4 separate regions of the Homo sapiens genome follow, and all the other regions are linked to region 4. The links are contacts of gene promoters, found by promoter capture Hi-C in human tissues and cell types (Jung and others, 2019). All regions are on one chromosome and are shown on one strand. Each heading gives the region's core, a stretch centred on a gene start or on the middle of the fragment in contact. The rest is flanking DNA. Distances are from core to core; before and after follow the strand shown.

The links. Contacts are between HindIII fragments. The study calls those that stand out against the background at their distance.
Region 1: the fragment with the promoter of ZSCAN1 here is called in contact with the fragment with the promoter of ZNF671 in region 4 in 2 of the 25 tissues and cell types used here (adrenal gland and psoas muscle).
Region 2: a fragment that was not itself captured here is called in contact with the fragment with the promoter of ZNF671 in region 4 in 1 of the 25 tissues and cell types used here (dorsolateral prefrontal cortex).
Region 3: a fragment that was not itself captured here is called in contact with the fragment with the promoter of ZNF671 in region 4 in 1 of the 25 tissues and cell types used here (dorsolateral prefrontal cortex).

The regions. Positions count from the first base shown.
Region 1 is chr19:58,028,794-58,035,750 of GRCh38, reverse strand. It overlaps ZSCAN1 (zinc finger and SCAN domain containing 1), which reads right to left and starts at 1,726. Exons shown (of 6, transcript NM_182572.4): 1 at 1,590-1,726. The HindIII fragment of the contact is 19,074 bases long and covers 1-6,957 here.
Region 2 is chr19:57,982,182-57,988,587 of GRCh38, reverse strand. ZNF606 (zinc finger protein 606) reads left to right here. Exons shown (of 7, transcript NM_001348022.3): 6 at 286-381. Among named protein-coding and RNA genes, the nearest start is that of C19orf18, 11 kb to the right of the region's middle. The HindIII fragment of the contact is 5,523 bases long and covers 902-6,406 here.
Region 3 is chr19:57,368,493-57,374,927 of GRCh38, reverse strand. ZNF547 (zinc finger protein 547) reads right to left here. Exons shown (of 4, transcript NM_173631.4): 2 at 6,349-6,384; 3 at 3,020-3,146. The coding sequence starts at 6,372. Among named protein-coding and RNA genes, the nearest start is that of ZNF547, 8.2 kb to the right of the region's middle. The HindIII fragment of the contact is 8,803 bases long and covers 784-6,435 here.
Region 4 is chr19:57,724,689-57,731,625 of GRCh38, reverse strand. ZNF671 (zinc finger protein 671) reads left to right here and starts at 4,002. Exons shown (of 4, transcript NM_024833.3): 1 at 4,002-4,235. The coding sequence starts at 4,098. RefSeq lists enhancers at 3,656-3,705, 3,846-4,285, 3,803-4,303 and a silencer at 3,624-3,849. The HindIII fragment of the contact is 7,784 bases long and covers 2,854-6,937 here.

The DNA of each region.
Region 1 (6,957 bases), core at 477-2,976, 310 kb before region 4:
GACTGTGCCCAGCCAGCCATCTTCGAGTCAGCGTACCCGGCCACCTGCACCCTGATTGGGAAACTACCAGCTTGGTCTTCCCTGCCAAGGCCACAGGCAAAAATGCTCTCTTATGTTGTATTCACACTTTTATATATGTAGTTTTGAATAAGAAAAAAGGGCCTATTTTGAAGCTCCACAGGTTCAAGAAATCCCTTTGCCCTGGGGCCTCAGACCTTATACTCTCTCAGGTGCTCATGGCAGCTCACCCTGGAGACTCTAGGGAGGGGGGCTGTAGCCCCTCAGCATCCTCCAGGGTCCTGGGCTGAGGTCTGTGGGAGGAGATGCTAAGTTTATCAGGGATGAGGGTAAAGAGGAGGTCTTAGCAGAAGGCACCAGAGGTCCATGGGTGTGTCTGGGGTCTATATGGGGGCTGATGTGGAACACCTAGGCCAATGTGGGGGTACCTGAGCTGATGAGAGTCCTGGACTGATGGGTGGCTGTTTCTGGAAGATGAAGAGGGCCTGGGATGATGTGAAGGGGACTGAGGTCTACATGGCTGGTGAGGAGGATCTGGGCCCCCCCATGGGCAATGCTGTGGTGGCCCTGGGGTCCTAGAAGTCTACTTTGGTAGGGGTCTCTGATTAATGTTGGGGATGTGTGTGTGTGAGAGAGTGTCACTTGGAGGGCTCAGTGCCTGTGGAAGGGCCAGGTTCACCTGGCATGGGCACTGAGATCTGCAGCCCGAGCCCCAAATTCTATTGCGGGGATGGGCAGAAGGGCTTTGCCGCTGATGCCGGATGCTTAGTGACATAGAAGACGTGTTCACTGCGCCAGTCAGTGAATGGTTCTGGCTTTGAGAAGGGGGCTTACAGTGGGGAGGGCGTTGGGAGCTTAGGATGCCACACGGAGGAGTTCCATAATAAACGAGCTGGGGAAGTGTGCAAGGGCAGCGCACTGGGAATACAGGGGAGGGGCAGCGACGACGGCTGTGGACGGCTGGTTGGGGGGAGGATGGTGGGGTGATTGGGTGGGGGATGGGTCGGGGGCGGCTGTTCAGGAGGGAGATGGGCCTGGGGCGGGGAGGGGGAGCTTGTAGGGAGAGAGACGGGTCGGGGGCTGCTGTTCCAGTGGGGGATGGGCCCAAGGGGCCGGGTAGGGAGGGAGATGGGTCCGGGGGCGGCTGTTCAGGAGGGAGATAGGTCCCGGGATGCTGATCAGGTGTGGAAGGGAGAACTTGGACGCGGCCGAGCGGTGTTTGGGCGGGCAATGGGGGTACGTAGAGGGGCTTCGGCCTCAAACGGACAGGCGGATGCCAACAGGGGTCGGGGTCCCTGCGGAAGGGGCGGCCCCAGCCCCCCCAGTCCCCGCCCCGCGTGGCCTCTAGCCTTCCCCTTCCCTCCCCTACGGCGACCTCAGGACTCCCGATGGGCTCTGGAACCCCGGCCCGGCCCGCCCCCTCCCGGGCCCGGGCCCGCCTCCCCCGACGCGCGCCCCTGGACCGCGATCCCGGGCCAGCTCCCGCCGACGCGGCGCCGAGACCCTCCCGGGTGGGCGTCCCGATGGACGCTCTGGCGGGCGGAGGGACGGATGGGCCGCGGCGGACTCACCGCGCGCGGGCTTCGCTCGGGCCTGGGCCACTCGGTCATGGCGACCCCTGGGCTGGCGAGCGCGCCCAACGCCGCGGGCGGACCCCATCCCCGCACCCTGCGCGCCGCGGGCGGCCGCCATTGGTCCGCTGGATCACGCCGGGCGTCGGTGACAAGTCACCGCTGCGGGACTCCCGGGCAGGGGCGGGGCTGTGACGCACGAGGCGGCCGAGGCCAATCAGAAGCCGCCTGGGATGAGCGCCCCGCCCCCGCCGTGCCCTCCAGTTACCTCGGGCCGCGGTTCCAGTCGCCTTGGCAACGGGTCGCGCAGCGTCAGGGACGCTGCTGCGGAAAGTGGAGACGGTGGCGGCTGCGGGGATGCGCATGTACGATGGGGCCGCGGGGCAAAACGACGGCATTCCAGACACGCAACCGTTTTATACAGTGTCCAAGAGTAGTATGTTAAAACATTGTTTTTAATATAAATATGTTTAGTACAAGTATGTCCCAGACTAGGATCGCCACTCTTAGCAAATAAAAATACAGGACGTCGGCCGGGCGCGGTGACACGCCTGTAATCCCAGCACTTTGGGAGGCCAAGGCAGGCGGATCACGAGGTCATGAGTTCGAGACCAGCCTGACCAATATGGTGAAACCCCCGTCTCTACTAAAAATACAAAAATTACCTGGGCGTGGTGGCGCATGCCTGTAATCCCAGTTTCTCAGGAGGCTGAGACAGGAGAATCACTGGAACCGGGGAGGCGGAGGTTGCAGTGAGCCGAGATTGCTCCATTGCACTCCAGTTTTCCAGCGTGGGTGACAGAGCGAGACTCCGTCCCCCCACCCCCAAAAAAAAGAAAGAAAAAAGAAACCTCAGTTATATGTAAACTCAAGAAAAACAAGGAGGCCGGGCGCGATAGCTCACGCCTGTAATCCCAGAACTCGGGAGGCCGAGGCAGGCGGATCACCTGAGGTCGGGTGTTTCAGACCAGCCTGGCCAACATGGTGAAACCCCGTCTCTACTAAAAATACAAAAATTAGCCAGGCATGGTGGTGCGTGCCTGTAATCCCAGCTACTCGGGAGGCTGAGGTAGGAGAATCGCTGGAACTGGGGAAGCCGAGGTTGCAGTGAGCCGAGACCTGCCAACGCACTCCAGCCTTGCCTGGGCAACAGAGTGAGACTCTGTCTCAAAAAAAAAAAAAAAAAAAAAAAAAGAAAGAAAGAAAAAGAAAAACAAGGAATTAGTATCAATGTGTCCTATATTTCATATACTTTAACGAAACCTTACATAAGAACATTTCATATAAATAAGTTTTAATATTAATGTCTACAATGTAACCATGTGCCAGAATAGTAGGGTTCCACAGATACTCGTTTTGTATCTGAAATCAGGTGGGGGTGAGATCATGATGCAAGGAGGGTCCTCAGCTCTGGGACTGAGCTCAGGATAGCTGAAGCTGCTCATTGCTGAAGAAGAAGCAGGAGAGTGTGAGCTAAGAAAAGAGAGGAGGACCCACCTCCAGGGGGTCCAGCATCTGCTGGACAGCTGTTTATTGAGGGCCTATGTGTACCAGGCACTGTTCTGGACACTGGGGTGGGAGCACATCAGTGAGAGGGACTGATAGGGCTTTAGTCCCTTGGAAGCCCATGTTCATGGGGCAAACACCAGTAAACAAAGCAGATGCTTCATGGAAATATAAATACCTAGAATAAAATAAAACGAGGCCTGGAGATTAAGAGTCCCAGGAGTGGCAGGGAGGGGAGGGGCTGCCTCAGCTGGATAATCAGAGCCGTGTCTCCGCATCTTTGCTGCTGGCGGCTGGTCCCTGGAATGTTGTGTGTGAATGCCACTTTGTGCAGAAACCACTATGGGAAAACCAAATTAGGGTGCTAAGGGCTTATTATTCTCCTTCTTGAAAATTAGGCACTTGTAATGACATGGTTCATTTTCTTGGTAGCTGAAATTGGCGTGGCCCTTTGGGGCAGTGAAGGCTCATGTGTGCATTTATAACTGCCACCCATTTGGGAAATCTCCCTTGAGAGAACACTGACTTAGTCTGTCTCTAGAGTCTGGATCTAGACACCATCATAGGCCACCTGGTAACTCTAGATCCATTGGGAGGCAGCCTGGTGTCTAGCAGAGGTTTCAGTTTTTTTTTGTTTGTTTGTTTTGTTTTTTTTAAAAAGAGTCTTGCTCTTGTTGCCCAGGCTGGAGTGCAAAGGCGTGATCTTGGCTCACTGCAACCTCCACCTCTCGGGTTCAAGTGATTCTCCTGCCTAAGCCTCCAGAGTAGCTGAGATTACAGGTGCCCACCACCACATTCAGCTAATTTTTTTGTATTTTTAGTAGAGACGGGGTTTTACCATGTTGGCCAGGCTGGTCTTGAACTCCTGACCTCAGGTGATCCACCTGCCTCGGCCTCCTAAAGTGCTGGGATTACAGGCATGAGCCACCGTACCCGGACCAAAATTTTTTTAAGCAGTAGAAATCTTTGTCCCAAATTAAATCTTACTCGAAATCCCAATTAAAAGTAAATCAGCTAAAAGCAGAACTGTTATGGGTGCCAGGGGCTAGAAGAAGGGGCAAGGGGAATTCTTTTGGGGGCGATGAAAAGATGCTGGAATTAGATTCCAGTGATGATCGCACAATCTGGAGAATGTACCAAAAACTACTGAACTGTAAAAGGTTCGGCTGGGTACAGTCACTCACGTCTGTAATCCAAGCACTTTGGGAGGCTGAGGTGGGCAGATCACTTGAGGTCAGGAGTTCAAGACCAGCCTGGCCAACATAGTGAAACCCCGTCTTTACCAAAAAATTTAAAAAATTAGCTGAGCATGGTGGTGGGTACCTGTAATCCCAGCTACTCTGGAGGCTGAGGCAAGCAAATTGCTTGAACCTGGGAGGCAGAGGTTGCAGTGGGTGAGTGGGTGGAGATTGTGCCATTGCACTCCAGACTGGGCGACAGAGTGAGACTCCATTTCAAAAAAAAAAAAAAAAAAAAAAGAAGGGTGAATTTTATGCTGTGTGAATTATATCTCAATAAAAATGTTATTTTGGCCAGGTGCAATGGCTCACACCTGTAATCCCAGCATTTTGTGGGGCCAAGGTGGGAGGATCCCTTAAACCCGGGAGTTTGAGACCAGCCTGGGCAACATGGCGAAACCCCGTCTCTACAAAAAAATAGAAAAATCAGCCAGGCATGGTGGCTATTTCTGTAGTCTCAGCTCCTCGGGAGGCTGAGTCAGGAGGATGACTTGAGCTCAGGAGTTCAAGGCTGCAGTGAGCTATGATGCATTGCCACTGCACTCCAGCCTGGGTGACAGAGTGAGACCTCATGTCTAAAAAAAAATGCAGAACTGTTTGAGTTGAAGCTATGGGAGAAGACCTAGAATCCCAGTTTGAAGGACCCCTCTTTGAACCTTTCTAAGGAAGACCGAATGTCACCCCCTTACACTCAAAAATCAACTCCAGATGGAACTGGGCCCCATCTCTACAAAAAATTTAAACATTAGCCTGGCATGGTGGCACATGCCTGTAGTCCCAGCTACTTGGGAGGCTGAGGTGGGAGGATTGCTTGATCCCAGGAGTTTGCCAGCCTGGGCGACAGAGTGAGACCTCATCTCTGAAAAGAAAAAAGATAAAAAAGGAAAAAAAAAGCTCACCAAGCCTACCCCAAGCTTAGAAAGATACTACCCTCTTACATACATGGGGCTAACCAATGTGAAGAAAAGTCCCATCTGACTAGTTAGTGATCAGGGACACACAAATCAAGAACGTGGTGAGGTTTTTTGTTGTTGTTGTTGTTGTTTTGTTTGTTTGTTTGTTTGTTTTGGAGACTAAGTCTTGCTCTGTCACCCAGGCTAGAGTACAGTGGCACGACCTTGGCTCACTGCAACCTCTGCCTCCCAGGTTCAAGCAATTCTCCTGCCTCAACCTCCCAAGTAGCTGGGACTACAGGCATGTGCCACCACGCCCAGCTAATTTTTGTATTTTTAGTAGAGATGGGATTTCACCATGCTGGCCAGGATGGTCTCGATCTCTTGACCTCGTGATCCGCCCGCCTCGGCCTCTCAGAGCGCTGGGATTACAGGCGTTAGCCACCACGCCCAGCCTCCTCAGTTCACTTTTTAGTGTGGTATTTTCTCCAAAGTGATAAGGTCTGGAATTTTTTTTTTTTTTTTTTTTCTGAGATGGAGTCTTGCTGTGTTGCCCAGGCTAGAGTGCAGTGGGGTGATCTCGGCTCACAGCAACCTCCACCTCCCAGCTTCAAGTCATTTTCCTGCCTCAGCCTCCTGAGTAGCTGGGACTACAGGCGTGTGCTACTATGCCTGGCTAATTTTTGTATTTTTAGTAGAGATGAGGTTTCACCATGTTGGCCAGGCTGGTCTTGAACTCCTGACCTCGGGTGATCTGCCTGCCCCCGCCTCCCAATATGCTGGGATTATGGCATGAGCCACTGCACCTGCCCATATTTTGCTTTTTGCTTACCTGTCCCTTCACCTTGCTTCTGCTTTTACTCAGTTTGCCCTTTATTTAACCTCCAATTCCCTCTATTTTCCTGCCTCACAGCCGCATCTCCTGGGGTTGTAAGCACTATGTTAGGGAGTCACTTTGCAGCCTACCCTCCACCCTCCGCCTGGAACTGGACTTCCTGACCACAGAAACGCACCAGCTTAGCCTGGGCCAGCCCTCTGGGGGCTGAACATGCTTTACCCTTGCCTGGGACCCTCTGGGAGCCCCCAGGCAGGAGGTGTTAACCCAGGGCCACTGAAGCTCTGGGGATGTCCCTATCTCCAAACACTGCCAACTGAGGCAGGAGGGCTCAGGAGAGTCTTCGCCTCTTGTACCCTCCTTGGGCCTCTCCAAAACCAGTGACCTGGGGACCCTAAGTGCAGCTGCTCCTGGGTTTGCAGAGTCCCTGAGGACACAGTCAGGACTCATCAACCTCCCTCTCTGAAGTCTGCAGATGAGGCCTGGGGGCTGTTACCCCTGGCCTGGGCAGAGACAAAGAAACCACAGGAGGAGGAAGTACAAGTTTTAATGGCCCTGGGACTGAGTGGCCACTGTTCTCCCAGGGCCTGGATGCCTGGAGCTCCATCTGTGTCCCCAGCCCCCAGGTCCTGGATTGAGGGGTGAGCTCCCAGATGAAAGCCCCCCATCACTGTTGGAAGCAGCCCACACGGGGGCTGCCGTTGCTGGCTGTCAGCACACCACAGACATGTTGCTGTGCTCTCTGCTTCCCGCCCTTGTGGGATCTCTCTCTGGGGCTGCTGTTTCTGGCCCAATAGGCTGGCGGTTGCCAGGGAAGAGCCCCCGCTTTGACTGTCCAGGGGATGTGGTGGTCAGGGCCAGCTTCTCCATCTTCCACCTGTACAACATCACCCTGT
Region 2 (6,406 bases), core at 2,414-4,913, 260 kb before region 4:
AGGTGCTGCCCAAGTAAACGAAGCTGTTCCCATGGTAATGCCTTCAGCTGCTCCATGTTTAGAAGCTCATTGCAGGGGCGAGGGTGGTGTCTCAGAAGAGCTGAGATGATCTTGGGCCCTGAGGTTCAGGGATGAAACTCCTAATGCTTAAAGAGCATGGAGTGGGAAGGACCTTGCATATTCTGCCCAGGTTGAGAAGTCACAGGGAGGAATAGGCAAGAGAAGCTTTCTTTGGCTGTCCTGAAGCCTCATGACATGATTTCCATGCTTTTCCTCCATGCATAGGAAATCAGATTGCCAAGCCTGAGGTCATCTCCCTGTTGGAGCAAGGAGAAGAGCCGTGGTCAGTGGAGCAGGCATGTCCTCAACGCACTTGTCCAGGTGAGGGCAGACCCCAGGCTGAACAAGGAACTTCCCCCCAAGCCCTCTTTGTTGAGAAATGGGATAAGGCCATGAAGAGTTACCTTCCTCAGATGCATTTAGAATTCCCTCTAAGGAGCTTTCTTCTCTTGCTGCTTTTGATTTAGAGCAAAGAAGCATCACCATCCTAATAAGGTAGCCATTTTCCCTCGCTGTCGGCTCTTGATGGCTCCTGTTTTCTGCGGTCCCTTCCTCTAAGGTTGCCTCTAAGGTTACCTCTTATCCATGTAGCTACTTCAAATATTTTCCTTATTTCCTGTATTGCCAAACTTGTAACCTATAGCTATAGATGCTTATTTCAAAAAAATAGTCTTTTTGGGCTTTTTAGTTTGTTTGTTTTGAAATAAAGTCTCGCTCTGTCGCCCAGGCTGGAGTGCAGTGGTGCGATCTCGGCTCACTGCAACCTCTGCCTCCCGGGTTCAAGCGATTCTCCCACCTCAGCCTCCTGAGTAGCTGGGATTACAGGCACCCGCCACCATGCCTGGCTAGTTTTTGTATTTTTAGTAGAGACGGGGTTTCACCATGTTGGCTGGGCTGGTCTCGAACTCCTGACCTCAAGTGATCCGCCCACCTCGGGCTCCCAAAGTGCTGGGATTACAGGCATGAGCCACCGTTCCCGGCTTGGGCTTTTGTTCTTTCTTACTTAGATCTTGTGGGTACCAAACAAAATAGATTTTTAAAATATAGGTAATGTTCAAATATCTGAAAGCTACTTAAAATGTATAAGCTAAAAAAAAAATCTCCTTTATTAAAAAACTTAGCTGGGCTTTATGGTGCATGTCTGTGGTCCTAGCTACTCAGGGGGCTGAGGTGAGGATTGCTTGAGCCTGGGATGTTGAGGCTGTAGTGAGCTGTGATTTCACCACTGCACTCCAGCCCGAGTGACAGAGCAAGACCCTGTCTGAAAAACACCACCAAAAATAACTCATTTTTACTCCCTGCTGTTACTCACATTACTGTTATTCCCCCAAAACACAGATACACAGAGGCATACACACAGGTAACTACTTTTCTTTTACTATAAAATCTTGAGTTATTTTCTTGGTAGTTGCCCTGGGGATTACAATTAACATCTTTTGAGACAAGGTCTTGCTCTTCTGCCCAGGCTGGAGTGCAGTAGTACAATCTTGACTTACTGCAGCCTCTGCATTGCAAGCTTAGGCAGTCCTCCCACCTCAGCCTCCTAGGTAGCTGGGACTACAGCCATGCACCGTCATGCTCAGTTAATTAAAAAAAAATTTTTTTTTGTAGAGACAAGGTCTCACTATATTGCCCAGGCTAGTCTTGAACTCCTGTGCACAAGCAATCCTCCTGCCTTGGCCTCCCAAAGTGCTGAGATTATAGGTGTGAGCCACCACGCCTGGCCCTACAATTAACATCTTAATTTATGACAATGTAGTTTGGATTAATACTAGTGTAATATTAATAGTATACCAAAACTTTGTGTATAGCTCTGCCCTCCTCCTTTTATGCTGTTTTGTCACAAATTACATCTTTATACATTGTGTGTTCATGAATATGGATTTATAATTATTGCTTTATGCAGTTGTCTTTTAACAGACTGAAAAAAAGGAGCTAGAAACAAGAATTTTACTTATATTGTCTTTTTATACTTATGTAGCTATCTTTATTGCTGTTTTTTATTTTGAGTTACTGTTGAATGTTCTTTCATTTCAGCCTGAGGAACTCATTTTAGCATTTCCATTTTGTTTTTTGAGATAGAAAAGACACTCTGTTGCCCAGGCTGGAGTGCAGTGGCATGATCTTGGCTTACTGGAGTCTCAACCTTCTAGGCTCAAGTGATCCTCCCATCTCAGCCTCCTGAGTAGCTGGGACTATAGGTGCACACAACCACGCCTCACTGTGTTGCCTAGGCTGGTCTTAAACTCCTGAGCTCAAGTGATGCCCCTGCCTCAGCCTCTCAAAGTGCTGGGATTACAGGCGTGAGTCACTATCCCCAGCCAGCATTTCCTGTCGGACAGGTTTGCTAACAGTGAACTGTGGCGTTTTGTTTATCTGGAAATCTCTTGATTTCTCCTTCATTTTTGAAGGATAATTTTACTGGGTATAGAATTCTTGATTGTCATGTTTTTTTGTCTTTCTTTCTGGCCTGAGTCGTTTCTGAGAAACAAGCTGTTAATCTTATTGAAGATCCCTTGTACGTGATGAATTTCTTCTCTCTGCTTTCAGGATTCTCTCTTCGGCTTTTATTTTATTTTATTTATTTATTTATTGAGACAGACTCTTGCTCTGTCGCCCAGGCTGGAGTGCAGTGGCGCGATCTTGGCTCACTGCAGCCTCTGCCTCCTGGGTTCAAGCGATTGTCCTGCCTCAGCCTCCTGTGTAGCTAGGATTACAGGGGCCCGCCACCACGCCCAGCTAATTTTTTTTTTTTTGTATTTTTAGTAGAGGCAGGTTTCACCGTGTTAGCCAGGGTGGTCTCAATCTCTTGACCTCATGATCCACCCACCTCGCCCTCCCAAAGTGCTGGGATTACAGGCGTGAGCCACCACCCCTGGCCCTAGTTTAATTATTATGGGTATGCATGTAGCCTTCTAGGTTGGAGCTTCTCAGAGTCCCTATAGACATCTCATTCCTCAGCTCTTTCATTCTATCTTTTTGACTCGTGTGTTTTGGGCCCCACCTGTTTGCCATCACCTCAGGCAGTGGTGACTTTAAAACATTGCCTGTAAATGTTAGAAAAGTACCTCCTCCCTAGAGGTTTTGTAACACTATGAGAGTTCTCTGTCAGGCAAAATAAAGACCAGCTTTTCCAGTGGAGTCTTCCAGGGAGCCACTAGGCAGGTCTAGTAATGAGTGTTCTTTGAGAATGAGGCTTTGAAAAAGCTCCAGCTTTGTTCTGCTCACTGAAGTACCAGAAGTGGGGGCTGTCATTTTTCCAAGGCTGTTACTGAGCCAGAGATGGGACCGGGGTAAGTTAGAACACCATATAGCTTACTGTTCTTATTAAAATTTACTTTTCTAGAATACATGTTTTCCTGGTTGCTGCAAGGCTTTGGTTAATTTTGTTTTTTTGTGTTTTTGTTGTTGTTGTTGTTTTTGTTTTTGTTCTGAGATGGAGTCTCGCTCTGTCGCCCAGGCTCAAGTGCAGTGGCATGATCTCAGCTCACTGCAAGCTCCGCCTCCCAGGGTCACGCCATTCTGCTGCCTCAGCCCCCCTAGTAGGTGGGACTACAGGCGCCCGACACCACGCCTGGCTAATTTTTATGTATTTTTAGTAGAGTTGGGGTTTCACCATGTTAGCCAGGATGGTCTTGATCTCCTGACCTCGTGATCCGTCCGCCTCAGCCTCCCAAAGTGCTGGGATTACAGGCATGAGCCACTGCGCCTGGCCTAGGCTTTGGTTAATTTACAGAATTTTGAAAAATTGCCTTCTGACAGTTTTGCCAGTTTTTTAGTTGGTTTTACAGAGTGGTGAAATTTTACATGTCTTTACTTGGCCATTTTCACTGACATTCTGCCTCAGGTAATCACTTTTAGTAATTTCTGTTACATGCATAACAGAGTTTCTTTATGCAGCTACAAGCATGTAGGAATTTGTAGTTATTTTTCATGTTTTCAACAATAGGAGATTATACACATTGTCTTTATCTTATTATTTTTGGCAATGTGCCACAGCCTCTTCTTGAGTCCTGAAGTTGGATTATCTTCCACCCACTCTAATGGAGGGGACTTTTGTGGAGAATCTCTCCAGTTGTTTTCCATTCAGATTGGAAACTTTCCCCTAAGAGCTCATGAATTCCAGGAGCTTTAATTCTTCTACCTTCAGTGCTGCCCATTCTTAGTTACCATCCAGAGCCCTGCAATTCCAGCACCTCTGTCCTTACACTTCTCCCATTTTACAAAGCATCTCACCTGTCTCCTTGATCACAGCCGATAGAACCAGTAATCTTGTCTCTACTTTCTAGATGTTCTCCCATCTTCCTGAGGTGCATTTCTGCATGTCCCCTAAGCTGGAGATTGAGAAGTCATCTTGACTTCGAGCTCTTTCCTCTCCAAGAAGTAATCTCTCTTCTAACTCCCAAGATTTTCTTCCTCTGAAATGTTAGTTACGTCATTCAGCTTCCATCATCACTCTCACAGTCCGGCCCCTTTCTCGTAAAATTCCAGCCCAAGTTGATGAGGAAATTCTCACTTGTTATTAGCCACCTCAGGTACTATTTCTAGATTTATATCCCTGAAATCTTTGATTATGAGATCCCTGTCAGTAAACCTACAGTGATTCTAATTGCCTTGTAACAAAACAACTGGATTTCAAAACCTTCTATTTTTTCTATTGTTTCTCTCATTTCCTGAATAGCTCCTGGAGTTTTATTCAGCAGGTATCCTTATCTTCCTCCTCACACACTGGTCACGCCATGCATGCCTCTGCTCATGCTGAGTGACTAGTCAGTCTGTACCCAGGTCGTGCTTCAAGGCTGAGCTCATGTTGTTTCTCTTGTGTGAACCATCCTCGATCACTTCAGTTAGTGCTGATGTCCTTTTTTGATCTCCCACCCACTTAGCATCTGTTCTATAACCCCACCATCTCAGAGTGATATTTCTTTTTCTTTTCTTTTTTTTTTTTTGAGACGGAGTTTTGCCCTTGTTGCCCAGGCTGGAGTGCAATGGTGTGGTCTTGGCTCACTGCAACCTCCACCTCCCGGGTTCAAGCAATTCTCCTGTCTCAGCCTCCCGAGTAGCTGGCATTACAAGCGCCTGCCACTATGCCCGGCTAATTTTTTGTATTTTTTTAGTAGAGACGGGGTTTCACCATGCTGGCCAGGCTGGTCCTGAACTCCTGACCTCAGGTAATCCACCCGCCTCAGCTTCCCAAAGTGCTGGGATTACAGGCGTGAGCTACCATGCCCGACCTCAGAGTGATATTTCATGTATATTCATCACTGTTTGGTAGGATCTCTCTTCACATAGATTCTGACTTCCAGGGAGACCGTACTTTCTTGCCTTGTCTCTGGTGCTGGAAACTCAGTAGACTACAAGTACTGAGTGAGTATAAAGTTGGACAAGAACTGTTCATTTGGTCTTTCAGTTGGTCTTTCATTTGGTCAGGGAATTGGTCAGCTTCCATTTGTAAAAAGCTTTTACTGGAAGGATTTAAAAATCTATATGAAGATAATTCAGTAACTTTTAAGAGCTGAGCTTGAAATTGATAATAAATGCCAGTTGTGCAGAGTAGAACCTCTGTTATAATGGTCGTGGGGGCCAGGGATGGGGGTTCACATTTGTAATCCCAGTGCTTTGGGAGGCCAAGGTGGGAGGATTATTTGAGCCCAGGAATTTGAGACCATCCTGGGCAACATGGCGGGACCCTGTCACTATAAAAAATTTAAAAACATTTAGCCAGGCATGGTTGTATATACAGGATTCATGCCTGTAGTCCTGTTACTCGGAAGGCTGAGGTGGGAGGATTGCCTGAGCCCAGTAATTTGAGATTACAGTGAGCTATGACGGTACCACTGCACTCCTGCCTGAGTGAGACCCTGTCTCAAAAAAATTAAACAAAAAATAATGGACTTGGGTGGTAAAAGGGGGGAAATTACATATAGTAAAGAGAAAAAAAGAAGCAGAGAGAGAGGGCAAGGTCTAGTTCTTGTTGGGACCTGCCTGGGGCTTTAGACCCTGTAGCAATCTGGATAATGACTTCCCCCACAAAGATATCTGCATCCTAATCTCCAGAATTTGTGAATGGGGCACCTTGTATGGCAAAAGGGACCTTCAGATGAGAGTAAATTAAGGATCTTGCTGTGGGGAGATTATCCTGGATTGTCTGAGTGGATTCTAAATGTACTCACAAGGGTCCTTTTATAAGATTGTGGTGGGAGGGTCAGAGACATGGGAGAGGATGTGATGACAGAAGCAGAGGTTGGAGTGATGAGCTTTGCAGATGGAGGAAGGAGCTGCGAGCCAAGGAATTGGGGCAGCTTCTAGAAGATGGAAAGGGCAAGGATATGGTGGATTCCTTAGA
Region 3 (6,435 bases), core at 3,936-6,435, 360 kb after region 4:
GGGCTCAGCAGAAGACAGGAAATGTGGGAAAGTTTGGAACTTCCTAGAGACTTGATGAATGGTTTTGATCAAAATGCTGATTTAGCAATATGGGCCATGAAGCCCAGGCTGTGGTGGTCTTAGATGGAGATGAGGAACTTGTTGGGGACTGGAGTAAAGGTGACTCTTGCTATGCTTTAGCAAAGAGAATGGCAGCTTCTTGCCCCTGCCCTACATATCTGTGGAACTTTGAACTTGAGAGAGATGATTTAGGGTATCTGGCAGAAGAAATGTCTAAGTGCTAAAGTGTTCAAGAGGAAGCAAGGCAGAAAAGTTTGGAAAATTTGCAGCCTGGCTATGCAATAGAAAAGAAAAACCCGTTTTCTGGGGAGAAATTCAAGGCTGCTGCAGAAATTTGCATAAGTAACGAGGAGTGGAATGTTAACCACGAAGGTGATGGGGAAAATGTCTCCAGTGCCTGTCAGAGACCTTCCCGGCAGCCCCTCCCATCACAGGCCCAGAGGCCTAGGAGGGAAAAATGGTTTTGTGGGCCTGGCCCAGGCTGTTCAGTGCAGCCTCAGGACATGGAGCCCTGCATCCCAGCTGCTGGCCCTGGGTCCCCCTGCTCTATGCAGCCTCGGGACATGGCGCCCTGCATCCCAGCTGCTTCAACTCCAGCCATGGCTAAAAGGGGCAAGGTACAGCTCCAGCCATTGCTTCAGAGTTTAAGCCCCAAGCCTTGGTGGCTTGCACATGGTGTTGGGCCTGTGGGTGCAAAGAAGTCATGAACTGATATTTGGGAGGGAACCTCCACCTAGATTTCAGAGGAGGTATGGAAATGCCTGATGTCCAGGCAGAGGTTTGCTGCAGGGGTGGAACTCACGGAGAACCTCTGCTAGGGCACTGCAGGAAGGGAAATGTGGGGTCGGAGCCCCCACACAGACTCCCTACTGGGGTACTACCTAGTGGAGCTATGAGAAGAAGGCCACGTCCTCCAGTCCCCAGAATGGTAGATCCACCAACAGCTTGCAACGTGTGCCTGAAAAAGCCAGAGACACTCAATGCCAGCCCATGAAAGCAGCTGAGGGGGGGTCTGTACCCTGCAAAGCCACAGGGGCAGAGTTGCCCAAGACAGTGGGAGCCCACCTATTGCATCACTGTGCCCTGGATGTGAGAGATGGAGTCAGAGGATATCATTTCAGAGCATTAAGATTTAATGACTGCCTCGCTGGGTTTTGGACTTGCATGGGGCCTGTAGGCTTTGTTTTGGCCCATTTCTTCCATTAGGAATAGGTACATTTATCCAGTGCCTCTATCCCCATTATATCTTAGAAGTAACTAACTTGCTTTTGATTTTACAGGCTCATAGGCAGAAGGGACTTGCCTCATCTCAGATGAGACTTTGGACTTGGACTTTTGGGTTAATGCTAGAGTGAATTAAGAGTTTGGAGGACTGTTAGGAAGGCATGATTGGTGTTGAAATGTGGAAGGGACATAAAATTGGGTGGGGGGGGCCGGGGTGGAATAATATGGTTAGGCTCTCTGTCCCCACCCAAATCTCATCTTGAATTGTAATCCCCATAATCCCCACGTGTCAAGGGTGGGACCAGGTGGACAGAACTGAATCATGGGAACAGTTTCCCCCATGCCGTTCTCATGAAACTGAGTAAATTCTCATGAAATTTGCTGGTTTTATGTGTCTGGCATTTTCCCTGCTTGGACTCATTTGTCTTGCCGCCCTGTGAAGAAGATGCCTAGTTCTCCTTTGCCTTCCGCCATGACTGTAAGTTTCCTGAGGCCTCCCCAGCAATGGGGACCTGTGAGTCAATTAACCTCTTTCCTTTAGAAATTACCCAGTCTTGGGTATTTCCTAATAGCAGAGTGAGAATGAAGTAATACAAACACTAAGGCCAATGAGAAGAAGGCCTGCTGTGCAGAGTTGGACCTGGCAAATACCCATAATGGGAGAGCCCTGATGATGGGTAAGAACACAAGAGAGGGGTACAGTGCAGAGAGGAGGAGGGTCTCCAAGTCACTTCTCTGCAAATGGCTTTCCACAGGCCATGGCTGCTGGTGACTAGTGAGCAGTGTGTAGAAGGCTGTGTCTAAACCCAGAGAGATCTGATTGTGACAGAGGAGATGGTGTTCAGGGACTACTGACAAATACATGCAGACCTCACCTTAAGTACAGGTCATGCAGTGGATGGCACTGCAGAGGGAGCAGTTGAAGAAAATAGGTAACGGCTGGAAGCCAGGGATTAGAAGTCAGAGTAAAAATGACAACGGGGGAAGGAAAAGAAGAGTGAGTTGTGGCAACCAGTCTTCAACTAAACAACAGGGGTCACCAGACAGATTCCTAGTAATATGACCCCAGCTGTGATATTACACCTTTTCCCAACTCCCAGGAACCAGGATCATGTCCCTCTGAGTCTCTACAGCCCTTCAGGGAGTAATATCCACCCTCTTGGGTACCAGGGCCCTCCCCATTGCTTAAGGTGACAGTCTGTGAGACCTGAAAGAGACCAGTCCTAGGGGAAAGACACAGAAAGAGACAAGACAGCACATTCCCAGAGAGATCACCTGATGATATCTCACATTCGATAATCACCAGAACTTCACAGAAGATTTCTACATCCTACACAATCAAGCCAGTGGTTCACCAAATTAGTGATCAGGTCAGTGCCAGAAATTCCAGGAACAAGAAGGGACCAAGAAATATTGGCAAGAGCAAGGGAACAACAGAGCACAGAGGTCTCATGCATTTGAATAGAACACAGGGCCAGTGGGTCTCTATGTCACCTTCAACATTTCTGGATCCTGAGCCCTTTCTTGCAAGCCTCAGAACAGCAGAGGATGGGGCTGCCAGGAAAAAGGAAGCACACAGCACATATTGCAGTCCTGACTCTCATGGAACATATGTCAGGAAACAAGGAAAAGAAGCAGCACCCATGGTCTCACTGTGGGAAACGCAGAGCTGCCTTCAGGTAAAAGGAGACAACACAGCCCAACCCAGGACACTGGGCAAGTGTGAGGGCCTTACCTAGTGAGGACAAAAGGGCCAAATTCTCCAGCATCACATCACGGTACAGCAATCTCTGAGCCTCATCGAGATGCCCCCACTCCTCCTGGGAGAAATATATGGCCACGTCTTCAAAAACCACATGACCCTGCCAAATTGGGAAAGATGAATACATGAGCAGCTTTTCAAACTGTATTTACTTAAGTTCTCTATTTATTTTCTACTTATATTTACCACCCATTAAACACAGGGACAAACTAACAGCTAAATGTGTTTCCATCTCCCCTACCATCCTGGGCACATATTCTTAACCATCTCCATCTCTAACTTTCTCAAACCAAGTCAGTATTTCCCATGCTCTAAATCAACCCAGGGACAGGTACTGCACAACTAGGGACAGTCCCAATAGCCCAGGTGTCCTGGAATTACTAAAACTAGCCAAACTATCCTGACAGCCAGCCCTGCCTTGTTTCCCTTGGAAACCCCAACAGCATCTGTGGACTAAACTAAACTCACTCCAATTTTCCTCCTGATCAAATCTGGTGTTTCACCGTGTGGCCCTGTGTTATGTGGTATGTAACCTCCTTAGGGAAACGTAAGGAATAAATATCTTCTTTCAGTGTCATTGGCCTGTCCCTGGCATCACTCACTCACATCCATAAATTAAAACTCCATGGGGGCCAGGCACAGTGGCTCATGCCTATAATCCCAGCACTTTGGGAGGCTGAGGCGGGCAGATCACCTGAGGTCAGGAGTTCAAGACCAGCCTGGCCAACACAGTGAAATCCCATCTCTACTAAAAATACAAAAATTAGGTGGGCATGGCGGCACATGCCTGTAGTCCTAGCTACTTGGGAGATTGAGGCAGAACTGCTTGAATCCAGGAGGTGCAGGTTGCAGTGAGCCAAGATCATGCCACTGCACTCCAGCCTGGGTGACAACACAGCAAGACTCCATCTAAAAAAAAAAAAACAAAAAACCCCAATGGGTACAATCACTGCTACTTTTCTCTCTCCAGGAACTCATCCCTCTCCCCTACACCTCCTTTCCTTCCTCAATCTCTACACCCTCCCAATGTGGAAGAGAAACCACATCCAGGTGGCATGAGTGACTTTTCTCTCCATATTGACATTGGCCACCGTGTCCAGCACACAGAGGAAACAGATGGAAGATAAGGTAGAAAAGGAATGTGGGCCTCCCGTGGGGGGATCCATCCTCTCCTGCCAGCCAGTTTCCATGGAGTCACCCAGATCTTGCCTCCCAAGACAACCAAACTCAGACTCATCCTCCTCCCTTGAGCTACCAGGGCCAGGGCCTGAGGCCCTCCATTCACACTCCTCCTGCCTGCACATCACTCTTTGGACAGCACTCCAATCCCATCTCTCACACCTCCACTCCAGTCAATTCCACAGACACCTCCCAGCCCACACCACAGGCATTTCCTTCACCTCCTAACAGGCCACTCTGCACACAGAAACCAGGTGGTGCACGGCAAATACGCTCAGCATCCAATTCACTCCCAGTCCTGCCCCAGAACACCAAAGTTCCCTAGCACCGGGGGCAGCCCTAAGCCCTGGGTTGAAGGTTCCCTACATGGCCCTGTTTCTCACTTCACTGTCAGGTGCCCAAACCATGTGAGGACTTCACATACTCTCAGCTGTGTCCTGCCTCATGGACACAGGATTGTAAGTTTCCTGAGGCCTCCGAGTTATGCTTCCTGTTAAGCCTGAAGAACTATGGGCTGGGTGCGGTGGCTCACGCCTGTAATCCCAACACTTTGGGAGGCTGAGGAGGATGGATCACGAGGTCAGGAGATCAAGACCATCCTGGCCAACATGGTGAAAGCCCATCTCTACTAAAAATACAAAAATTAGCTGGGCGTAGTGGGGTGAGTCTGTCGTCCCAGCTATTCAGGAGGCTGAGGCAGAAGAATCGCTTGAACCTGGCAGGGAGAGATTGCAGTGAGCCGAGATTGTGCCACTGCACTCCAGCCTGGGCCACATCTCAAAAAAAAAAAAAAAAAAAAAAAAGAACTGTGAGTCAATTAAACTTCTTTTCTTCATAAAGTACCCAGTCTCAGGTAGTTCTTTGTAGCAATATGAAAACAGACTAATAGAATTCCCATCCTCATCTCATTCCAACTGATGCTTAGCAACTCTCCGACCTCACCCTATTACCCTCCTCAGCAACCCCATCATGTCCACTCTCCTTCAGAAGTCTTTCTCACTCCTATACCCCACCATCTCACATACACTCATCCCCACAAACACTCCATTCCCTCATTTGTCTAGTGACTCCTCCACCACTGCACAGCTACCCAGTAAGAGACCCAGTTCTCATGCCCCATTCCAATTCTCTGTCTTCGAACAGCACTGCCACCATAACCTAGAGATGCTGTCACCTAAACTGAATCCATGGCTTCATCCTGGTCCATACGACAGCCACCATAGTGTGGACGTCTCCAACCTGAACTCCTCCACCAGGAGTCTCTGAGACATCTGTGGCTTGAACAAACACTGACTCCTCACACTCACTCTGAAAATTCCTAATACTGCTGACTTCTCCCATCTTAGCTGATGGAGCATCTATGCTTCCAAACAAAAACCATGGGGCCACTCCTGATTCCCCTTCTATCCCACCCCCCCAGCTGCCTCACTCTCTACATCATAAAATGTGGGCAGCTCCAGTTCAAAACACATCCTGAAGCCACCGCTACTCTTGACAAGTCACCACCAACATCCACCTAGACTGCTGCAGGAACATCCTCTCAGATCTCCCTGCCATTACCCTCACCTCCACAGTCTGTCCTCCACTCAGACGCCAAAGAAAGTTCCTTAAGCTAGGGTCCTATCACTGCCCTCTTCTGCTTCAAATCTTCCCCATCTACCACCTCCCTTAGATTAGAGACCCAGGACCTAGGCTGTCATTCCAGGCCTGATGTTTGTGTGTCTCTAGCCACCTCCCACTCTGCTCCCTATTCCTATCCGATATAACAGACACTTGCAGTTCCCTAAAAATCCAGTTCAGTCTCTCCTCTAAACACTGAAACATTCTTAATCTTGTGCCCATGACACTCTGACAGATGTTACCACGTCAACTGTCAAAAATGGGAGCCACTCCACATAATCCAGGGCCATCCAGGTAAGGTGTCACAGTAAACTTAAAACAATCAAACAAAAATCCCAGACCTAATTTAAGATACTAGAACTGGTGGAATCACTCACTTTTCAGACATAAGAGAGGGAGAAAGACAGAAAGAGAGTCTCTGGACACCACTTTTCTTTACATGGAGGTGCCAAAACCATCTATGAGATAACTGGTAGGTGAAAGGTAGAAAACACTCCACTCACCTGTGCAGGGTTCATTTCTGCCATCGCCAGGGGACCCTGAAGGAAGAGGGAAACCGTGAGAAATGGGCAACGATGGGAAGATCTTAC
Region 4 (6,937 bases), core at 2,753-5,252:
ATTGGTGCATAAGAATGCTTGTGATTTTTGCACATTGATTTTGTATCCTGAGACTTTGTTGAAGTTGCTTATCAGCTTAAGGAGATTTTGGGCTGAGACGATGGGGTTTTCTAGATATGCAATCATGTCATCTGCAAACAGGGACAATTTGACTTCCTCTTTTCCTGATTGAATGCCCTTTATTTCCTTCTCCTGCCTGATTGCCCTGGCCAGAACTTCCAACACTATGTTGAATAGGAGTGGTGAGAGAGGGCATCCCTGTCTTGTGCCAGTTTTCAAAGGGAGTGCTTCCAGTTTTTGTCCATTCAGTATGATATTGGCTGTGGGTTTGTCATAGATAGCTCTTATTATTTTGAGATACGTTACCATCAATATCTAATTTATTGAGAGTTTTTAGCATGAAGGGTTGTTGAATTCTGTCAAAGGCCTTTTCTGCATCCATTGAGATAATCCTGTGGTTTTTGTCTTTGGTTCTGTTTATATGCTGGATTACGTTTATTGATTTTCGTATGTTGAACCACCCTTGCACCCCTGGGATGAAGCCCACTTGATCATGGTGGATAAGCTTTTTGATGTGTTGCTGGATTCGGTTTGCCAGTATTTTATTGAGGATTTTTGCATCAATGTTAATCAAGGATATTGGTCTAAAATTCTCTTTTTTTGTTGCATCTCTGCCAGGCTTTGGTATCAGGATGATGCTGGCCTCATAAAATGAGTTAGGGAGGATTCCCTCTTTTTCTATTGATTGGAATAGTTTCAGAAGGAATGGCACCAGCTCCTCCTTGTACCTCTGGTAGAATTCGGCTGTGAATCCATCTGGTCCTGGACTTTTTTTGGTTGGTAAGCTATTAATTATTGCCTCAATTTCAGAGCCTGGTCTATTCAGAGATTCAACTTCTTCCTGGTTTAGTCTTGGGAGAGTGTATGTGTCGAGGAATTTGTCCATTTCTTCTAGATTTTCTAGTTTATTTGCGTAGAGGTGTTTATAGTATTCTCTGATGGTAGTTTGTATTTCTGTGGGATGGGTGCTGTTATCCCCTTTGTCTTTTTTTATTGCATCTATTTGATTCTTCTCTCTTTTCTTCTTTATTAGTCGTGCTAGTGGTCTATCAATTTTGTTGATCTTTTCAAAAAACCAGCTCCTGGATTCATTGATTTTTTGAAGGGTTTTTTGTGTCTCTATTTCCTTCAGTTCTGCTCTGATCTTAGTTATTTCTTGCCTTCTGCTAGCTTTTGAATGTGTTTGCTCTTGCTTCTCTAGTTCTTTTAATTGGATGTTAGGGTGTCAATTTTAGATCTTTCCTGCTTTCTCTGGTGGGCATTTAGTGCTATAAATTTCCCTCTACACACTGCTTTGGACGTGTCCCAGGATTGTGGTATGTTGTGTCTTTGTTATCGTTGGTTTCAAAGAACATCTTTATTTCTGCCTTCATTTCGTTATGTACCTAGTAGTCATTCAGGAGCAGGTTGTTCAGTTTCCATGTAGTTAAGTGGTTTTGAATGAGTTTCTTAATCCTGAGTTCTAGTTTGATTGCACTGTGGTCTGAGAGACAGTTTGTTATAATTTCTGTTCTTTTACATTTGCGGAGGAGTGCTTTACTTCCAACTATGTGGTCAATTTTGGAATAGGTGTAGTGTGGTGCTGAAAAAAAATGTATATTCTGTTGATTTGGGGTGGAGAGTTCTGTAGATGTCTATTAGGTCCGCTTGGTGCAGAGCTGAGTTCAATTCCTCGATATCCTTGTTAACTTTCTGTCTTGTTGATCCGTCTAATGTTGACAGTGGGGTGTTAAAGTCTCCCATTATTATTGTGTGGGAGTTTAAGTCTCTTTGTAGGTCACTAAGGACTCGCTTTATGAATCTGGGTGCTCCCGTATTGGGTGCATATATATTTAGGATAGTTAGTTCTTCTTGTTGAATTGATCCCTTTACCATTATGTAATGGCCTTCTTTGTCTCTTTTGATCTTTGTTGGTTTAAAGTCTGTTTTATCCGAGAGTAGTATTGCAACCCCTGCCTTTTTTTGTTTTCCATTTGCTTGGTAGATCTTCCTCCATCCCTTTATTTTGAGCCTATGTGTGTCTCTGCATGTGAGATGGGTTTCCTGAATACAGCACACAGATGGGTCTTGACTGTTTATCCAATTTGCCAGTCTGTGCCTTTTAATTGGAGCATTGAGCCCATTTACATTTAAGGTTAGTATTGTTATGTGTGAATTTGATCCTGTCATTATGATGTTAGCTGGTTATTTTGCTCATTAGTTGATGCAGTTTCTTCCTAGCCTTGATGGTCTTTACAATTTGGCATGTTTTTGCAGTGGCTGGTACCAGTTGTTCCTTTCCATGTTTAGTGCTTCCTTCAGGAGCTCTTTTAGGGCAGGCCTGGTGGTGACAAAATCTCTCAGCATTTGCTTGTCTGTAAAGTATTTTATTTCTCCTTCACTTATGAAGCTTAGTTTGGCTGGATATGAAATTCCGGGTTGAAAATTCTTTTCTTTAAGACTGTTGCCTTCTTTAGAATATTTATTTAGGGTATTGTGACAAAGTCAAAAGGTGATGCAGGACAAAAATCATTATATGCAGGACATGTCCTGTATGTATAGGAATCTTGGAAATTTTATTAGTGATGTCTTTCATGCTACTAACACATTTGAAAAACACCTACTGAGAGCTCGTATGTGTTCCTTGGATGTGTATTTTAACAGTGAATTATCAAGACAGCACAACTTCACTGTTGATTTTTACCATTCTGATATCTTCTTTACAATTGCTCAGCATTTTCAGGAAAAAAGAGTCACATTTTGTTGACAAAGTGTGGTCAAGATCACAACACAACCATATGCTTAACTTCATTCTTTCACTTATACTTTAGTATTCAGGCTCAAACTTTACTGAGATCTTAACTTTGTCCATCTATCACAGATATTTCCTTAGAGCAATTTCTTTCATTATCTTCAAATAACTACGGAATCATTATTAATAGCTGTCAGGATTTTTCCCCCGGGGATAATCTCACCTCCTAACACAGACACCATACTTACAATGACAATGACAGGTTAAATGGTAATTGCACTGTGTTTTGCTGTGATGGAGACATCACTGATTACCCAGGCAGGAAGAGTTTTCTGAAGAAATCTGTCCACTGGTTTCAGGGAGACTCCACATCATCCCTCTTCCTTCTTCCACTCCAAGGCCTTGTTTGGAATATTTTCTCTTCCGTCTCTGACCAAACTGAAGCTCACAAAAGTTACTGTAAAGCTTGAGTGCACACATATTTAAAAAGCAACAAGGTAATAGTTATTAGCTTCTAGCTGTGAGTGTACGCAAAGAGACATTGTGGTGTGGTGTATCTATTTAGTTTTGCAGCTTTGGGGAACATCTGAAATGTCTCAACATTTCTGCGATCGGTGCATACTACACTCCAGGGAATCTAGGTCCAGGCCTTTTAAGAGGACAGAAGTCAGCCGGGCACCATGGCTCACTCCTGTAATCCCAGCACTTTGGGAGGCCGAAGCAGGCAAATCACAAAGTCAGGAGTTCGAGACCAGCCTGGCCAACATGGTGAAATCCCGTACTCTGCTAAAAGTACTAAAATTAGCCTGGCGTGGTGGCGGGCCCCTGTAGTCCCAATTACTTGGGAGGCTGAGGCAGGAGAATCGCTTGAACCCGGGAGGCGGAGGTTGCAGTCAGCCGAGATCGCGCCACTGCACTGCAGCCTGGGAGACAGAGCGAGACTCTGTCTCAAAAAAAAAAAAAAAAAAAAAAAAGAGGACGGAAGTCCTGTCAGCCCTTTGAAACTCGGGTTACTTTTCCCAAACAACTTGGCCCTCCTACTTCGAGTTTTCCCAAGAGCCCAGGCCGAGAATCCCCTGCCTTGAAGGATAGCTCAGTGGGAACCACACTCTACCCACAAACCTATACGTTGCATACCCAATGAGGGCCCAGGAGAGGGGTGTTTCAGTGCCTGCGGGGGGTGCGTGGGCGGGACTTCCGGCTCCTCCTTGTAGCGGACATTTTGTTTCTGTCAGGCTGTCCCTGGCCGGGGTTCTGTAACGCTTGTGTGGGCCGCAGGTGGAGGTGTTGGGAAAGCGCGGAGGAGATGTTGTCCCCAGTGTCCCGAGACGCGTCTGATGCTCTGCAGGGACGGAAGTGCCTGCGTCCCCGATCGAGACGCCTGCCGCTCCCGGCAGCTGTCCGCGCCCACGGTCCTATGGCGGAGCTAACGGACTCCGCGCGGGTGGGTGCTGCGTCCTCCGGGCCCTCAGTCACCCTTTCTCCGACTCCGAATCGTAAAGTGCCTGCAGCCCCTGTGTCCCAGGACAGCGACGCACTCTTGGGGCGGGGTCCTATCTCGGTGTGGGTGGGTGTGGGAGAGTTACGGGCGGAGGGGACGGCGCAGGTAAAGGCTCGGGGGTGCTGCTGACCCCCAAACATTTGGGAGACAGGGTTCTCATCAACACAGAGCAGAGTTTGAGGAACTGTGACTGGAATGGCAGGCTGAGAAGTTGTCGCTTCATTCTGAGGGCGTTGAGATTAACTGAGGGTTTTGAATAGAAGGACGTGATCTTAGCTGGGATTTTAAGTGTCTCGAAATTTGCTCAGGGGAGAACATTAGTTTGGGGTGGGGACTGCGAGGATGGATACGAGGAGACCGGTAAGGAGGCTACTGCAGTGGATTCCAGGAATGCTTTGGTGGTGGATGTACCAAGAGTAATGGCAGGTGAGTGGGTAGAAGTGATCATATTCTGGGTAGGTTTTAAATTTGAAACCAACAGGATTTTCTGCTCCATCATATGCAGCTATGACTGAAAGTAAGGCATGAAAGAGCAAGGTGTTTTTGTTGTTTTTCCATGAACGTTTGGATTTTGGAATGGTGACTTTGAGATGTCTCAGAGTGGAGGCTTCCTCACTTAGGCAACTAGAGAGGAAGGTCTGAAGTTGTGGGGAAGGGGCTGGGCTTAGAATATCTTTGGGGTGAAGGGAGCGGTCTGGAGTAGGTCAAGGCCAGGAGGTCAGATTTAAGTGGGGCAGTCTTAAGTATGTTATTTCATATCTCTGGGGTAAGAGATGAGAAGGCTGGGACTGCAGGGCAGGGAAGAGGGAGTGGGCATTCTTGAGACTCCCCCCAGAAGAGAAGGGTCCTGCCATTTGAAAGGGTTCTTTTCAGTGTTTGCAGGAGGAGAGAGCTGTAGGGTATGAGGAGTTTGGCCTGGGATGGCAACGATGGGTGGTGTGCTATTGCTACTATCTGATTATCTCACCCTCATTTTGTGTGTTTTCTTTTAGTTTTAGTTTATTTATTTTTTTTATTTTTTTTGAGACGAAGTCTCACTCTGTCGCCCAGGGTGGGATGCAGTGGCTTATTGCAACCTCTACCTCCCGGGTTCAAGAGATTCTCCCGCCTCAGCCTCCCAAGTAGTTGAGATTACAGGTGCCCACAACCACCCCTGGCTAATTTTAGTATTTATAGTAGAGACGGGGGTGGGGAGGTGGGAGGGGTGGGGTGGGGTGGGGAGGTGGGAGGGGTGGGGTGGGGGCGGGGGAGTGGGGGGGACGTTCACCGTGTTGGCCCAGGTGGTCTTGAACTCCCGACCTCAACTGATCCACCGGCCCCAGCCTTCCAAAGTGTTTGGATTACAGTTGTGAGCCACTGCACTTGGCTTTGGTTTTATTTTATTTATTTATTTTTTTTTTGGAGACGAGTCTCGCTCTGTCACCCAGGCTGGAGTGCAATGGTGCGATCTTGGCTCACTGCAGCTTCTGCCTCCCAGATTCAAGTGATTCTCCTGCCTCAGTTTTCCCAGTAGCTGGGATTACAGGCATGCATCACCATGCCCAGCTAATTTTTGTATTTTATTAGATAGAGTTTCACCATGTTGGCCAGGCTGGTCTCAAACTCGTGACCTCAGTTGATCCACTCCCTTCGGCCTCCCAAAGTGCTGGGATTACAAGAGTGAGCCACCATGCCTTGGCCAGGTTTTGTTTTGTTTTGTTTTTTTGAGATGGAGTCTTGCTCTTGTCACCCAGGCTGGAGTGCAGTGGCGCGATCTCGGCTCACTGCAACCTGTCTCCTGGGTTCAAGCAGTTCTCCTACCTCAGCCTCCCGAGTAGCTGGGATTACAGGTGCCCACCACCACACCCCGCTAATTTTTCCATTTTTAGTAGAGACGGGGTTTCACCACGTTTCCTAGGCTGGAGTGCAGTGGCACAATCTCGGCTCACCGCAACCTCTGCCTTCTGGGTTCAAGCAATTCTCTTGTCTGCCTCCTGAGTAGCTGGAATTACAGGCACCCGCCACCACGCCCAGCTAATTTGTTTGTATTTTTGGTAGAGACGGGGTTTCACGATGTTGGCCAGGCTGGTCTCGAACTCCTGCCCTCAGGAGATCCACCCGCCTCGGCCTCCCAAAGTGCTGGGATTACAGGTGTGAGTCATCATGCTTGGCTGAGACCCCATTTCAAAAAAAAAAAAAAGTTCACTACTTCTCCCAGTCTTGCCTAGTGTAGTAGAAGGATCTCACGAATCCATCTGGCCAAAGATTTAAGGTGCTTCTCTAATCTTTGTGTTTGTCCAGAATGCTGTCTCTGTTTTTGGTAACTCTCTGGAACTTAGGATGTACTACATTCTGTCATTATCCTAAGGCCAGAAGGTAGGAACCAGACTCTTTTGATGTAGCTGGAATGTGTTGAGGGTGTTGAATGTGTTCCAGTTTCTTCCGTTTTCATGATGCAGCTGAGCATGGGTATTTATCTCCTGCTGCCTGCATTAAGTTAGTTAGAGATCTGTGTCAAATGCCTAAAGTCGGCCAGGCGCAGTGGCTCACACCTGTAATCCCAGCACTTTGGGAGGCCGAGGCGGGTGGATCACGAGGTCAGGAGATCAAGACCATCCTGGCTAACATGGTGAAACCTTGTCTCTACTGAAAATACAAAAAATTAG